4 separate regions of the Homo sapiens genome follow, and all the other regions are linked to region 1. The links are contacts of gene promoters, found by promoter capture Hi-C in blood cells and fetal thymus (Javierre and others, 2016). All regions are on one chromosome and are shown on one strand. Each heading gives the region's core, a stretch centred on a gene start or on the middle of the fragment in contact. The rest is flanking DNA. Distances are from core to core; before and after follow the strand shown. Region 1 holds the start of PIN4 (peptidylprolyl cis/trans isomerase, NIMA-interacting 4). Region 2 holds the start of CITED1 (Cbp/p300 interacting transactivator with Glu/Asp rich carboxy-terminal domain 1). Region 3 overlaps NHSL2 (NHS like 2). Region 4 overlaps NHSL2 (NHS like 2).

Region 1 (3,327 bases), core at 222-2,721:
CTGAAAGTGAATTCATCAATCTCATCCCCGCTCCTCATGTATCCTTGATGTTACCCTGCAGGACCAGCAACAGGTTAGAAATCCAATCCAGAAAACAGAATGATCGTTGATCCTCCCTCACCACCCCTCCCCAACCCAATAAATCACCAAGTCTTGACTATTTCACATCCTAATATTTACAGAATCTTTTCTCTTTTCTCAGTTCCCACAGCCACTCCCTTAGGTCAGTCCACCATCATCTCTCACCAAGACTACCACAACAATCTCCTTACAGGTCTTTCTGATCCTTAACTGTCCTTCTTAGCAGAATATATAGCACTCTCCATGATCTCGTCTTTGTTTCTGTTTTCATTCTCACCACTTGCCATTCTGCCTTGAGTTTTTGCTCCAGCAACACTACGCTGCACACATCATGCTGTTTCTCACCTCAGTGCTTTTGCTGCTGGACCCCAAGTAAGGAATGCTTTAACCTACCCTCAATGCACATCTTGACCTGCCTAATTCATCTCCAGGAAGTCTTCCGTTCCCTGTTCCCCAGCTAAATGAAGGACTTCCCTCAATTTCTATTATATCCCATACACATCCCTCAACACTACATTTAGTACAGTGCTTTATGATCACTAAGCCTTTATCTTCCTCACTACTTCGGGAGCTCCTTAAGGCCAAAATCTCTTTTTTTTTTTTGAGACAGAGGCTCGCTCTGTCGCCCAGGCTGGAGTGCAGTGGCGCGATCTCGGTTCATTGCAACCTCTGCCTCCCGAGTTCAAGCGATTCTCCTGCCTCAGCCTCCCGAGTAGCTGGGATTACGGGCGCGCACCACCACCACGCCTGGCGAATTTTTGTATTTTTAGTAGAGACGGGGTTTCGCCATGTTGGCCAAGCTGGTCTCGAACTCCTGACCTCGTGATCCATCCTCCCTCGGCCTCCCAAAGTGCTGGGATTATAGGCGTGAGCCACCGCGCCCAGCCTTCTGTCTTATTTGTGTATCCTCAGCGCTTAGCACTCTGCCTGACACATTTCTGTTCAATGGATGAATGATTCCTTCCCCGATGGTGGGCATGTCATTCTGTAAGCATTAAAGTGAACTTTAAGGACCATAACCAATGTGTACTTCCTATTGCTGGCTTTTGATAAGACCCAATTTTAGAGCTCTAATAACCCCTTGAAATAGCAGCCCTAAGTCATCGCCTCCGAGGAACTATCCCCATCAGATTCCATTACCCACTAGGACGGTCCCTGAACCGTAGCCCAATGTATTCCTACAGATGTAATCGATGGCAGCACTGTGGGGCCACTGGCTACCTGCTGCGTCCGTCCCGGACTCCGGAGATGGACTGTCTGTTCCCTCCCTTCGCTCCTCACCCGCCCCCATTCTCCTTGATCGCTCTGGCCGCTCTACCTTTCCCCGCTTTTCCAGAACCACTTTTTCCTTTGGGCGGCATCTTGGAAGCTTGTTGTTGAACGCTGAACCGCTCCAGTTGCCGTACAAGCCCCTTTAGAAGCCCCGCCATGGGCATGTCCTAAACAAATGCCTGAAAGCCGCATCTCAATTGACCGTTCTTATTGCGGCTCCGGAAGCAGGCACAGCTTGGGGCAGACCCCGTCCTTTGGCTCTTGGACCAATGGGGCTGAAGATGTCTGACCAATAAGACGCTTGGGCCGAAACAAAGGCAGAGGGGCGGAGACAAAGGCCGGATTAGGGCGGGAAGCCTGGCCTCTGCGCTTTTTGTGACTTCTTTCACGCACCCTAATTTGCACCAGATCCCCCACTCCCCACACTCTACGCCCGAAGCTCCCCCGTTCCCCTCAACCTGGCTTTTTTCACGCGTGCGCAGTAGGAGCCACGGGGGTGGGTGGCTCTGCAGTCCCTCGGCGCCAGCTCTGGCCAATCCCGCGGGGCCGCCAGACAAAGGGAAGCAGGAGTACTGTGGTGGCGGCCAACTTCCGCTGTCTCCTCCTACACACAGGGCTGCCCTCCCTGGCAGTTTTTCGTTTGTTAATTTTATTCTGCAGTTGTAGCTAATTAGGTTCAAAAGGTAGTTTTTAAAAAAGCCTGTCACCTTTTTGCGTCTTGCAGAGCTCAGTCATGGAGAAACATTGGAAGCAGTCTGAGTGCTCCTCAGTCGGGTACTGCTTAAATAATGTTTTAGCCACACAAGAAGATATTATACAACATTCAAAATAACGATTGTAAGGCTGTGTGTACAGATAGGGGAAATGTTTTTAAGACCAAGATAAAGAATATGATTCCTTGTAAAAGAAGTATATGTAATGTATTGTATGTTATATGAATATAAAGGAGAGGAAAGCTATAGAGCAAGATGTGGCCAGTGGTGCTAGTGCATACAGGTCATCGTGTTTGTTTCTGTGTATTTTCCAAAATTTCCATAATGGTGCAGCATAGTGTAGTAAAAGCATGGATTCTGGAGCCAGATTGCCCAGTTTCAAATCCCTGCTCCACATCTGTCTACTAGCTCCATGACCTTGAGGAAGTTACTTCACCTCTCTTTGGCTCAGTTTCATCATCTGTGAAATGGAGTTGATGATAATAGTACCTACTATTATCCTATCAGGTGTTAAGAGAATTAAACAAGTTCATATCTGTAAAGCACATAAAATGATGGCTTGCTCATATTAATAATGTTTGCCTAAGATAAATGATTTTTGAATTTGTGCCCACACACTTTTTCTCCCCTTACAATCCCTCCCACCATCAATAATTTGTATATGATATGTCAGGGCGTTTCCTCCAGTCCATGAGAGAGCTGTCCTAGCTTGCCACTACCAGCCAGAATATAGAGGTCTTCCAGCTCAGAGTTTAGTTTTTGGATGCAGCCTTGCTGGACCTGGAGATGCTTCATGCTCATACCAGGGAATCAGGTGTTTCTGAGACTGTGCTCATTCCCTACTCAAGACATAACATGGAGCCCTCTTATGTTTGGCTGCTTTAAATTCTGGACACATTTTGGGCACTCCTTGTTTTCGGATTGGGAGTGATCAACTGCGGAGGACACATCTAGTGGTGAGGGGATCATTGCTCTGCCACTTCTGAAGTGGATCCCGCACCTGTACTAATTCTCCAAGTTCGGCTGCGAGATGGAGGGGCGGGGGAGTTGGGATTGGGTGTTGACGATGACAGCGTAGCCTTGTGTTCATCAGGTTATCTATGGCCAAGAGGCCCAAGAGGAACATTTACTTTTGATTTTTCTTTCTTTTTTTTTTTTTTTTATTTTTTATTTTTTATTTTTTTTTTTTATTGATCATTCTTGGGTGTTTCTCGCAGAGGGGGATTTGGCAGGGTCATAGGACAATAGTGGAGGGAAGGTC
Region 2 (3,327 bases), core at 310-2,809, 120 kb before region 1:
GTGGAATTTATTGGGCAAGTCCACGCAGGGCGGTGGGGAGAGCCGGTGTCCCGGGCCCTGGCCCCCGACAGCTTTAGAAGCCGGGCACTGGCCAGGGCTCCGGGCGAGGGCTGCCCATAGCCCGGACTCGCCAGCCCCACCCCGGGAGCCTTGGCCGGTCCACAGGGCTGCCGGACTCGCGTGGCCGCGTGGACTCCGTTCCCCAGCCGGCCCTTTGCTTTCACACGATCCGCGGTGACTGCACCAGCTCGAGCGCCTTTAAAGGGCCACAGACGCCAGCCGCTGCTATAAAAATGTGCCCGGCGGCAAAGCTGCAGAAGGGGCACCGCTGAGCTGCCGAGAGGAAGCTCGCTCTGCCCGGCTGCCCTCTTGTAGTCCGCCGGCGAGGGGCAGTTCTCGGTGAGGAGGAAGAGAGCAGCGGACGGCACAGCACCCGCGCGGGCCCTCCGTGAGTATCCAGTTCAGATTTTGCCACCAACTCGCCCACGAGCCAGGACATGTGCTAATAATGCCCTAAGCCGGTTATAAAGACGTGGAAATTGAGGGGAGAAAAAAAAAGGGAAAAAAAGGGTCTGTCCTTCCTGGGATTCCTAGCCGAGGCCAGTCTGCTGCCGTGTGCGTGTGCGTCAGGGCTCTCCGGGCGGCAATGGGGGCTTGAGAGCCGGGTCCCCAGCGCCGGGAAGGGAGCGCGGTGGCCGCCACCGCCACCGCCCCGGAGTCCGGCGCCGAAGCTGCGGGCGGGCGGGCGGGCACCAGCTCGGTCAGGGGCTGCTTGGCGCGGCACTGTGCGGTGCAGCGGCGGCGCGGCGCGGTGCGGGCTTTTCCCAGGCGCCCCGGGGTCGGGTGGCCAACGGCGCGGCCGCGGGCGCTGAGCGCGACCGGTTCGCGGTAGCGGTGGCGGCGGCGTGCGTGCCAGGGGCTGGGGGCTCCGCCGCCTCTCTTGCGGCTCACCGAGCTCCGCGCTTCCCTCTCTCCAGGGCAGGCGGCTTCTCAGAGGTAAGCCGGGCCGCCGGGCTGGGCGCCGGGCTGGGCGGCGGGGCCGAGGACTCCCGTGGAGCGGGTATGGGGAGTGGGCGGCCGCCAGGCGGGCCGGAGGGTTCTGGGGAGACTTGCTTTCTGTTGGAAAGCTGCTCTGCTGGGGGCGAGGGGCCGCCCGCCCGCCCGCCCGCCAGCGCTCGGGTTCGCTTGCCAGCGCGCCCCCCTGCCGGCCAGCGGGGCCGGGTGCCCGCTTCTCCCGGGGAGACGGCAGCACCTTTTCTCCCTGCGCCCGCGCTTTCTCCAGCTTGGCTTCCACCGACTTTGCTAATCTCCCGGACCGCATCTGGACGCTCTGGCTCCGGAGCTGCACAAAGCTCAGATTTACTTCGGGGAATTGAGGCAAGAGGGGGCTTTTCGGGCCGAGTTCAGCGGAATTGCGGGATGGAAGTTAGCGAATTTGGGCAACTTGCCTCTACTGCCCAGTCGACCTCAGCCCTCCCCTCCCCCGACACACGCCCACACACACACACCCACGCGCACACCCCTCTCCCTATAAACGCGGGCTGGCGAGCCGCGCGCCGAGTCCCTGCTTCGCAGAGCACCGGACTTGGAGTCAGAGAGACCTGGCTGCGAATCCCGGCTCCGCCACTTTCTAGCGCTGTGACCTTGGGCAAGTTACCGCACCTCTCCGAGCCTCTCTCACTCTTCTCCTAGCGGGGTTTTAGCACTGACCGCAGGCGGCTTGGCTAGGGGGTAGGCTCAGCCTGCTGCCGCGTCGGATGCTCAGCGGGCGCTCAGTAAGTGTTGATCAGGCGCGAGAGTGGCAGCAGCCGGCGCCGGAGTGCGGACTCGCCGCGGAGGCCGACACCCCGTGCCCCTTCCTGCCTGTCCATCCTGTCTCTAAGATCAGTTCCTGATACAGCACTTGCGGGAACGGACGCTCAGGGCCCCGGTGGCCTGGGTGCACGCGCCCGCCGTGCAAGGGATGCTCCCGGCCGCCCCCGGTTCCGCGGCTCCATCTGGGATGCGGCGAGGAGGGCAGCCGAGCTGTCCGCAAACAACGGGCCTTTAGTTTTCAGGTGGCGAAACTGACTGGTCTGGTTAGAGCGCGTCCAAGCCAAGCCGCAGTGCTGTTTGGATTTTTAAATTTCTCCTTCTGAGTGAGAAAATAGCAATCGAGATGGAACCATCCGGTTGGTGCCATTTTAACTTTTGGTCCCCCAACAGGTTAAAGATGAGGCCCCCACCTGCCTCTCCCTTCTCTTTTCCCTCTCCCCTTCCCACCCCTGTCTAGGCGGGAGGGGGCTGCTCGCCCAAGGGAAGGCCTGAAGCGAAGAGCGGGCAGCGGGACTGGGAACTGGTGGCCGGGGGGCCGCCAGGCATCAGCCGGCGAGAAGGCACTTGTTGCTCTAGGTTTCCCAGCCGCCTGTCGCAGCCGTTTCGCAGTGGTCAGCTCGCGGCTTGGAGAGCGGGCTGGGACGTTTCCGCGTTGCCAAGTTTTGCCCACGAACGGGCTAGAGGGTGGTGGAGGAGGGCAGAAAGCCGGGGAAGCAGAGCCAGGGATGCCGATGGAAATGCGATTGCTTCTTCAGACGCATTCAACAACACTTACTGAGCGCCTATTGAGCGCAGACCCAGGCTGGGGTCAGGGTGGGTGGTGGGTCAGTAATGGAAGGCAGAAGATCTGAATGGACACAGGGCCTCTTCTGGGGGAGCTCCCAGATTGAAGAGGGAGGCGCGGTAAAATGGTCTTCCCCCACGAACTGATATCAGAATAGAGAGAGTTTTTTTGCTCGTTCTCTCTTTTGATTTTTCTAATGTTTCTCTTTTGGTTTTGCTGTTGTTGCTGCTGCTCCTGTTGTTTTTTCTTCGTTTTGTACATTCGGGTACCAAGCGGCAAAAAGGAGAGGGAAGGCTGGATAGGAACAGGAAAAGATGGACAGGGCCCCCAGACATTTTTCTTAGGACAGGAAAATTGTCTGATACTGATTGTGCTAGGGCTCTTGAAGACGACATGTGTTAGACTTCTTGTCTGGTGATCACTTGCTTTTGAAATATTTTTCTACGGTTGCCTCAGAGAAGGAGCAGGGCTTCAATCAAGCAATGATGCGGGACCCAACAGCTGATATTTTTTCCTCATGTTTTTAAAAAAATGTTTACCCCTTTCTCTATTTTTTCCCTCCCCTACCCCCATCCACCCAAGTAAGCAATGCAAAGATGATACAGAGAGGTAGTAAGTGGCCACTTTCTAGAAGTGTCTGAGCAGATTCTTAATGACCGCTGCGGAGTGGAGAGTGTCACGGAGAATTCTAGCCTCCTTGGAAAGATTAGAGACTCTTTTTAAGGTCC
Region 3 (3,327 bases), core at 386-2,885, 120 kb after region 1:
GTGAATTGGATTGAATTACTCATACCTTCCTCAAGGCTGCTGGACAAAAGATCTGCAGTGATGGTTAAAAACTGCTTTGAGGGGTTACTTCTGTAGTCCTGGGCATGGTCAACTTCTTGGCCTTGGAAGTGTGTACATGGGTGTGTATAATTTGTGATCATTCATCAACGTGTGTGGCTTTTTTGTATGTTAATTGCCCATACAAAGTTTATTTTTTAGAAAGTGCCTGACACATAGTAGCCCCTACTCAAGGGAGGTAGAACACTTTGTATTTTGGGCCAAAGTGACCAGAAAGGCAGTGATGTCATTAATGGCCAAGGAACACGGGGATTAGTTACATAGAAAGTGAGTTTGGGGGAGGCAGGAGGCTGTAGAATTATGATTTGGGAAATGTTTTTCTTTTTTGGCCCCTATCCCAGTAAGAAGCCAGAACGCCTTCTGAGAGCTGGTGTTAAGAGTAGTAGGCCAAGGCCAAGGGGGTGGAACCAGCCAAGGCCTGGATCGTGAATAAGCATACACCCCAGAGGCTAAGCAGAGACGCAGACACAAGGGAAAGAGTGCTGGCGGGAGGCTCTATGACCTTGGGCAGGCCCTGGCCATTTTGAGCCCCATTTAGTTTCCATCCGGACAGTGAAACATATGAACCTAATTACCTCCTGAGGGTCCTCTCAGCTCAGACACTCAGAGGGGGTTGTCCTATGCACTGATATTAGTCAACAAGCAGGTTCTCTGATGATCCAAGCACCCACTCTGTTCCAGGTACTATTCTGGTTACAGAGGACACAAGAATGAGAAGCCCCAGCTGCTGCCCACAGGGGGCTCCTAGGCCTCAGTCTTTCCCACATACCTCCCCCTTGGGATCGACCAGCACCAATTTCCAGAATAGAAGGTTCTCTAGACTTGCAAAGGAAACCCTCTCTAGGGTTGGAAATGCACACGCCTGTAATGGTCAGGAAGGACAGGGCCATGAATGAAGTAGGCTAGGGTAAGCCACAGGGTGTGGTGGAGACCTGGAGCATGCATGCTGGCCACCCCCAACCCTGTTCCCAAGGCACTCAACCTCCAATCTGGGAAACCTCTCTGCTGACTCAACCCAACCTATCTGTAGTTCACATTCTGCCAACAGTCTGCCAGTTTGCTTCCCACCAGCTGTGGTCTCCAAGTATTTTTGAGCCTATACTCCCATATATACATATTTATGTATAAACCATATATATGTACTACTGTGCTAATCAGTTTTATAAAATTTAAAACATAAACAAACATGGAAATTAGGATATGATAAAGATGACTGTTAATAGAAATTCTAATATTTTCTCCTTGCACCCTAATAGACGATATATCCACTTTGGAGGCCACAGGTCTAGCACACCACCCTCTGCCTTACAACCAGATGATGGAAGAAGACAAAAAGAAAGTAACAAACATGTATTGCACTCTATTATCTTTCAGGCTTTGTTCTCAATGCTCTACCTACCTCATTCATTCATTCAATAGATTTTATTGAGCCTATTATATTAGGCCCTGTGCTGGGCAGTGGGTGATAGAGGTTAATGAGGCAGATGTAAAGAGTTTACAATCCAGGCAGAGGAGACAGACAATAACCAAGTACACGAATAATCAAGGTAGGACTAGTTCCTGAGAAGTGCCATGAAGGAAATCAGCATGGTGATGTGTGATGGCAAGGGATGGGGCAGGCATGGGGAGCTAGTTTGGATGAGTGGTAAGAGAAGTTCTCTCCGAGCTAAGAACTGAGCCTGAGAAGGAGCTGGCAGAGGGAACAGAAAGTGCCAAGGCCATGAGGCCACGAAGTGAGAGGGACCTCGATGTCTTTGAGAAATGGAAAGGAAGCCAGCATGTCTAGGGTGGAAGAGGTAGGGGGTAAGAGGTGGATGTTATCTGAAGTGCAATGGGAAACCATTAGAGCATTTTAAGCAAGGGAGCGACAGGATATGATTTAAATGTTTAAAAGACCACCATGTCTGCTATGTAAACAAAGGGCTGGAGGGAAGTTCCAGTAGAAATGGGCAGGAGGCTATCGTAGTAGTCCAGGCAAAAGATGATGGGCCAGGATCAGGGTGACGGAAACAGAGAGAAGCAGGCAAGCATAAGATATATTTAAACCTCATAACAATTTCACCATCATACCCATGAAGGCTGTATTACCATCCCCATTGCACGTATGAGAAAACTGAGATTAGGGGAAGTTAAGTAACTTGCCAAAGATCACACAGCTTGTAAGTGATGAAAGCAGGATTCACCCAGGTCTGCCTGGCTTCCTTCCCAGCCTACTCAGGATTCCAAATATGTTTCCTGCTCCAGGGAGTAATTCACCAGGACAATATAGGGTCTTCCTGTTTCAATCCTGAAAAACATTGGGCATTCCGAAAAAAGAAAAAGGGATTGAGGACAATTTGATCCAGCAATCAGCCAAGGGTATGTGAGTGATTCGAACAGTCCATTCCTTCCATTTTCATAAACACACCGAGTTCACCAGAGCTCTAAGTAAGGGAAAAACCATTCTTTCCTTTGGAGTGGGGAGTGGTCAGGAGGAGGGTAGTGATGGTATATTTGGAAATAGAAAAATAAAAAGCTGCCAACTTGTGCCTTCAAGGAAAACCCAAGGGCGCAGGCCAAGACAGGGGAAGTGACTTGCCAAATCCCTCCTCACAGCCCCCAGAGTTATTCATGTGAAAAAGAAGGCGGAATTGTCCCTGCCAAAGACATGAAGTCCTTTACAGAGCACTTTGTTAGCAAAGCCTAGCATCCCTGTCACTATGCAAAGCGAGCTGGAATGTTGCCATGGCAACGGGCAGCTGGGCCCTTGAATCAGCTTGAGGCCTGCCTTGGGCTCACACAAGCCTGTGGGGGCATCTCCTGGAGGTTGGGCAGTGGGCAGGGAGCTGGTTTTATGTTTGTCGATGAGGAGTCCTGAGCTCCCTTCTAGGTAACCAGGGGTCCGAAGGCTGTGTCTTCAGGAAGTATTTCCCGTTGTCAGATATGCCTAACTTCCACAACACGCAGCATCCCAGGTTGGCATGACCTGATCATTTTCCCAATTCAATGACAGAAAATGGAAACACCCAACTGCTGTAAAACAAAACTTCTTTATGTTACAAGTATAGGAAGAAACCAAAGCCCAGAGAGGGCAAGTAACTTGCTGAGGGTTGCACAGCCTTACTAGTGCCAGAGTCAAACCACAACTCCTTTGACTTCTGAGGTAGTGTGAGTTTCACCATACTACACTTCTTTCCTTAGACACTGGGGAGGGAGAAAAATGAATTGATGTTGACAGAGCCCCTCTATGTACCTAACACCATGCTGGAT
Region 4 (3,327 bases), core at 383-2,882, 86 kb after region 1:
AGAGTTTAATTGAGAGAGGAAGAAAGACAAGAGGTCTCAGCAGACTGTCAAGCAGATAATAGCTTCCGAAGGGTGGGTCTGCAAGAACTGAGAAATGAAAGACCTGTTGATGTGTGTAGGGGACAAGTGGTGTGGGAAAATACCAAATTTTCTTTTACACTCCTTCTCAATGCAAATGGAATAAATTCTTTAGAATAAAGAAGGGTTTTGAATGTCTGTTGGAACTTTTTTGTTTATCACAGAGAGACCTTCCCCTCCCCCTTCTCCCCCAAAAAGTTAAGAACCTGGCAGTGCAATCAGTAGCAGGAACACTGGACGGGGAGTCAGGAGACAGCCATGGTCCTGAATTTGCAGAATATGACAACAAATGATATATGTGAAATTCCCCTGGAAGCTGTAAAGCATAGTTAACTGCGGTTAAGTGTGGTTAACTGTTATGAAACTTAAGTTTGTCTGTGGCCCTTCCCATTTCTTCCCCTTTTGGGCCCTCTTCTCTTCCAACCTGTTGGTACAAAAACTACTGGGCCCAAGGTTTGAAAGGAATCCAATTCAAAGAACATATGTTGGTCCCAGAAGAGATCACCTAGACTGAAGAACGTTTTCAGCATCCTAAGTTAATGGTAACTCAGCTATTTTTAAAGTAATATCCCATTCAAAAATTGGAGGGCTAGGAAGAGATTTGTTAAATTATACAAAATTACAGCTGGGGAGGAGGAAAAAGTTCTAGTGTTCTATGCCATTGCAGGATGACTATAGTTAAAAATCACGTATCATTTCTAGGCATGGTGGCATGTGCTTGTAGTCCCAGCTACTCGGGAGGCTGAGGCAGGACGATCGCGTGAGCCCAGGAGTTTGAGTCCAGCCTGGGCAACACAGTGAGACCCAGTCTCTAAAAGAAGAAAGAATTAAAAAACCCAAATGATAATATATAGTTTCAAATAGCTAGAAGGAGGATACTGAATGTTCCCAACACAAAGAAATGATAAATGTTTGAGATAATGGGTATGCTAATTACCCTGATCTGATCACTATACATTATCTGTATACCCCATGTATATGTACAAATAATTACATTTGTCAATTTTAAAACAACTTAAAAATTGGAAGCAAACAATTTACCTTTAAGAGGAATTCTGCGTTCAACATAAAGCTAGAATGCCATATATTATCCTATACAATTTTTAAGTACTAAATGCTTTTTTCAGATTAAGTCTAGCAAGCTGATTTCTGGACTGAAGGACTGACATCATACTGCTCTACAGAGGCGAGATAAGGAGAAATGGACCCTCCATACATTGTACCTCACCAGCCTTGGGATTGGCTTTATGGGCTCCAGTGGCCCAAGTCCTGGGGACACAGTTAGCTAAAATATCTCCTTGCCTCTTCCTCACTCCCAAAAGTTAGTCCGTCACCAAGTTCCGTTGATTCTACTTACCAAATCTGTCCAGAATCTGGCCATTTCTTACCATCAGCACTGCCACCACCCTAGACCAAGCCACTATTGCAGGCAGAAGTCTCCTAAGTGGCCTCCCAGCCCCCTCTCCTGCCCTCTGGCTCTACGAAGCAGCCACAGTCAGCTTTTTAAAAGAGCAGCCCTACTGCATCTCCCTTCTGCTTGGACCTCGGATGAGGAGATCTTTGGCTAATATGTCTACCCCTGTGACCTGAAAGCTCAGGGTGCCAGCAGGAACCCTGTCTGTTTTGATGACCACTGTAATCTCAGGCCTGGCCTCATGCCTGGCATGTAGTAGACACTTATTTGTTGAATGAAGGAATGGATTTTAGCAGTGCACATTTGTACAGTGCTTTAAAGGTAACAAAAACTTCATTTGATGCTCAGAATAACCCTGTCATAACCCTGTGTTATTGCTCTCATTTTGCAGATGAGGAAATTGAGGCTCAGAGCATTGCCTATGTTGGCAGAGTTAATGCAGAGCATATTGAAATCCAGGTCTATGGGGGTCAAAAGCCCATGCCTTTCTGGCTAAACCCCTCAGAGAGCTACGGGAGTGTGGAGGGCATGGAGTTGAGAGGCACTTTGATATTTCTTGGCTGTATAAGGGGCTACTTTACTCAGGCCTTCAGGGCCCTAGAGGCAAGTCCTGTGGGGATTCCCTGCCAACCAGCCCGGGAGGACAATGGATTCTAAATCAGGCTTTCCTGGATGACTACTCTAACTACAGTGACCTTATTTTCTGAATCTCAAATCAGAATTCTTGGTCTGACAAACAGAATAAAATACTTGAAACTGGGACTTTTCTGGAAAATCCAGGGCACAGAGTTGCTGTACCTATACCACATGGCAGCTACATAATGGGCACTTCTTGGCAAATTCTGACCCAGACACCTTGGTCTATCACATCTCAAGAAGATTTCTTTTACATAACAAAAGCTGTTTTCTGGGCCTCACCCCAAATTCTTTCCATCTACATTTCTTGTTTGCTCGTTTAATTACTTCCCTTACTTGCTCTTATCTTTCCTGTTTACAGCTTTCTTCTCAGTCTGCCCGAAAGAGCTTCTAGGTCCTGCTTGCTGATGGATGCTATAAGCGATTGAGAGAAATCATAAGCAAAAGTGCTTGGGAACCATGGCAACAGGGGCCATGGCAACAGGGGCCAAGCACTGAGAGACAGCCCTTCCTGGTTTCTGTTTTAGACCAAGTGGTGCTGATAAGGCCTGATGGTCCCATTGTGTCTGCTAATCAGGCAACACTGTTAGCAGGAGGCATTATGGCAAAATTCTGGTTTCAGAAAGAGCTTTGCAATGCTCTTGCTTTACTGCACCCTGCGTTGCAATGGTGGGCTCATGGTAAAGGGCATTGCCAAATCCAGGGTTGAATCTAAAATTTGCCCCAATTACTCCTCACATGTGGTTCAAGTATACTTAGAGCTCCATGATGGACAGGCAGGCAGGTCCCAGTGTTAGGGTGACAACTGCAAAAATTTGGTTATCATTCTCTTGGGCCTGGAAGTCGAGAATCATAAGGTTACTCAAGCAATAGATCCTAAGGATTTATACTGATGTCTGGGAGAGAAGGGGCTCTTAGTGAATTGGGGTGCAAAGTCTCTTCCCATGGAGGTTATCCATCTCTCTGATGTACCAGGTGCCCTTGAACAAAAGGGTGGGCTCTGGAGGGGCTGTGAACCTGCCCTGCCTTTTTCTTGTCTTGTTTTTTTTTTTAGATGACGAACTCTTTCAAGCATATGAAAAAATATCAGGAACAAATTCATTTCCCTTTATTTGCCCCAGAACATTTTTCCTAAAGAAATAAAATACTACAGCTTGAGTCAAAGCCCCCTGCATGTTTTGAAATGTGCTATGTATGTG

The links. Contacts are between HindIII fragments. The CHiCAGO score rates a contact against its expected background, and 5 or more counts as called.
Region 2: the fragment with the promoter of CITED1 here is called in contact with the fragment with the promoter of PIN4 in region 1 in 7 of 17 cell types (total B cells, naive B cells, activated CD4 T cells and 4 more); the score reaches 9.5 in total B cells.
Region 3: a fragment that was not itself captured here is called in contact with the fragment with the promoter of PIN4 in region 1 in 1 of 17 cell types (neutrophils); the score reaches 5.5 in neutrophils.
Region 4: a fragment that was not itself captured here is called in contact with the fragment with the promoter of PIN4 in region 1 in 1 of 17 cell types (total B cells); the score reaches 5.2 in total B cells.

The regions. Positions count from the first base shown.
Region 1 is chrX:72,179,901-72,183,227 of GRCh38, reverse strand. PIN4 (peptidylprolyl cis/trans isomerase, NIMA-interacting 4) reads right to left here and starts at 1,471. Exons shown (of 4, transcript NM_006223.4): 1 at 1,400-1,471. The coding sequence starts at 1,442. RefSeq lists an enhancer at 1,212-1,431. The HindIII fragment of the contact is 4,711 bases long and covers 1,453-3,327 here.
Region 2 is chrX:72,304,146-72,307,472 of GRCh38, reverse strand. CITED1 (Cbp/p300 interacting transactivator with Glu/Asp rich carboxy-terminal domain 1) reads left to right here and starts at 1,559. Exons shown (of 3, transcript NM_001144887.2): 1 at 1,559-1,648. LOC105373250 (a long non-coding RNA gene) reads right to left here and starts at 1,371. Exons shown (of 3, transcript XR_938441.2): 1 at 1,253-1,371. RefSeq lists an enhancer at 504-553 and a silencer at 280-574. The HindIII fragment of the contact is 8,247 bases long and covers 1-3,327 here.
Region 3 is chrX:72,060,265-72,063,591 of GRCh38, reverse strand. The region is part of intron 1 of NHSL2 (NHS like 2); the gene reads right to left. Among named protein-coding and RNA genes, the nearest start is that of RTL5, 70 kb to the left of the region's middle. RefSeq lists a silencer at 2,679-2,973. The HindIII fragment of the contact is 4,014 bases long and covers 1-3,327 here.
Region 4 is chrX:72,094,370-72,097,696 of GRCh38, reverse strand. The region is part of intron 1 of NHSL2 (NHS like 2); the gene reads right to left. Among named protein-coding and RNA genes, the nearest start is that of RTL5, 36 kb to the left of the region's middle. The HindIII fragment of the contact is 8,021 bases long and covers 1-3,327 here.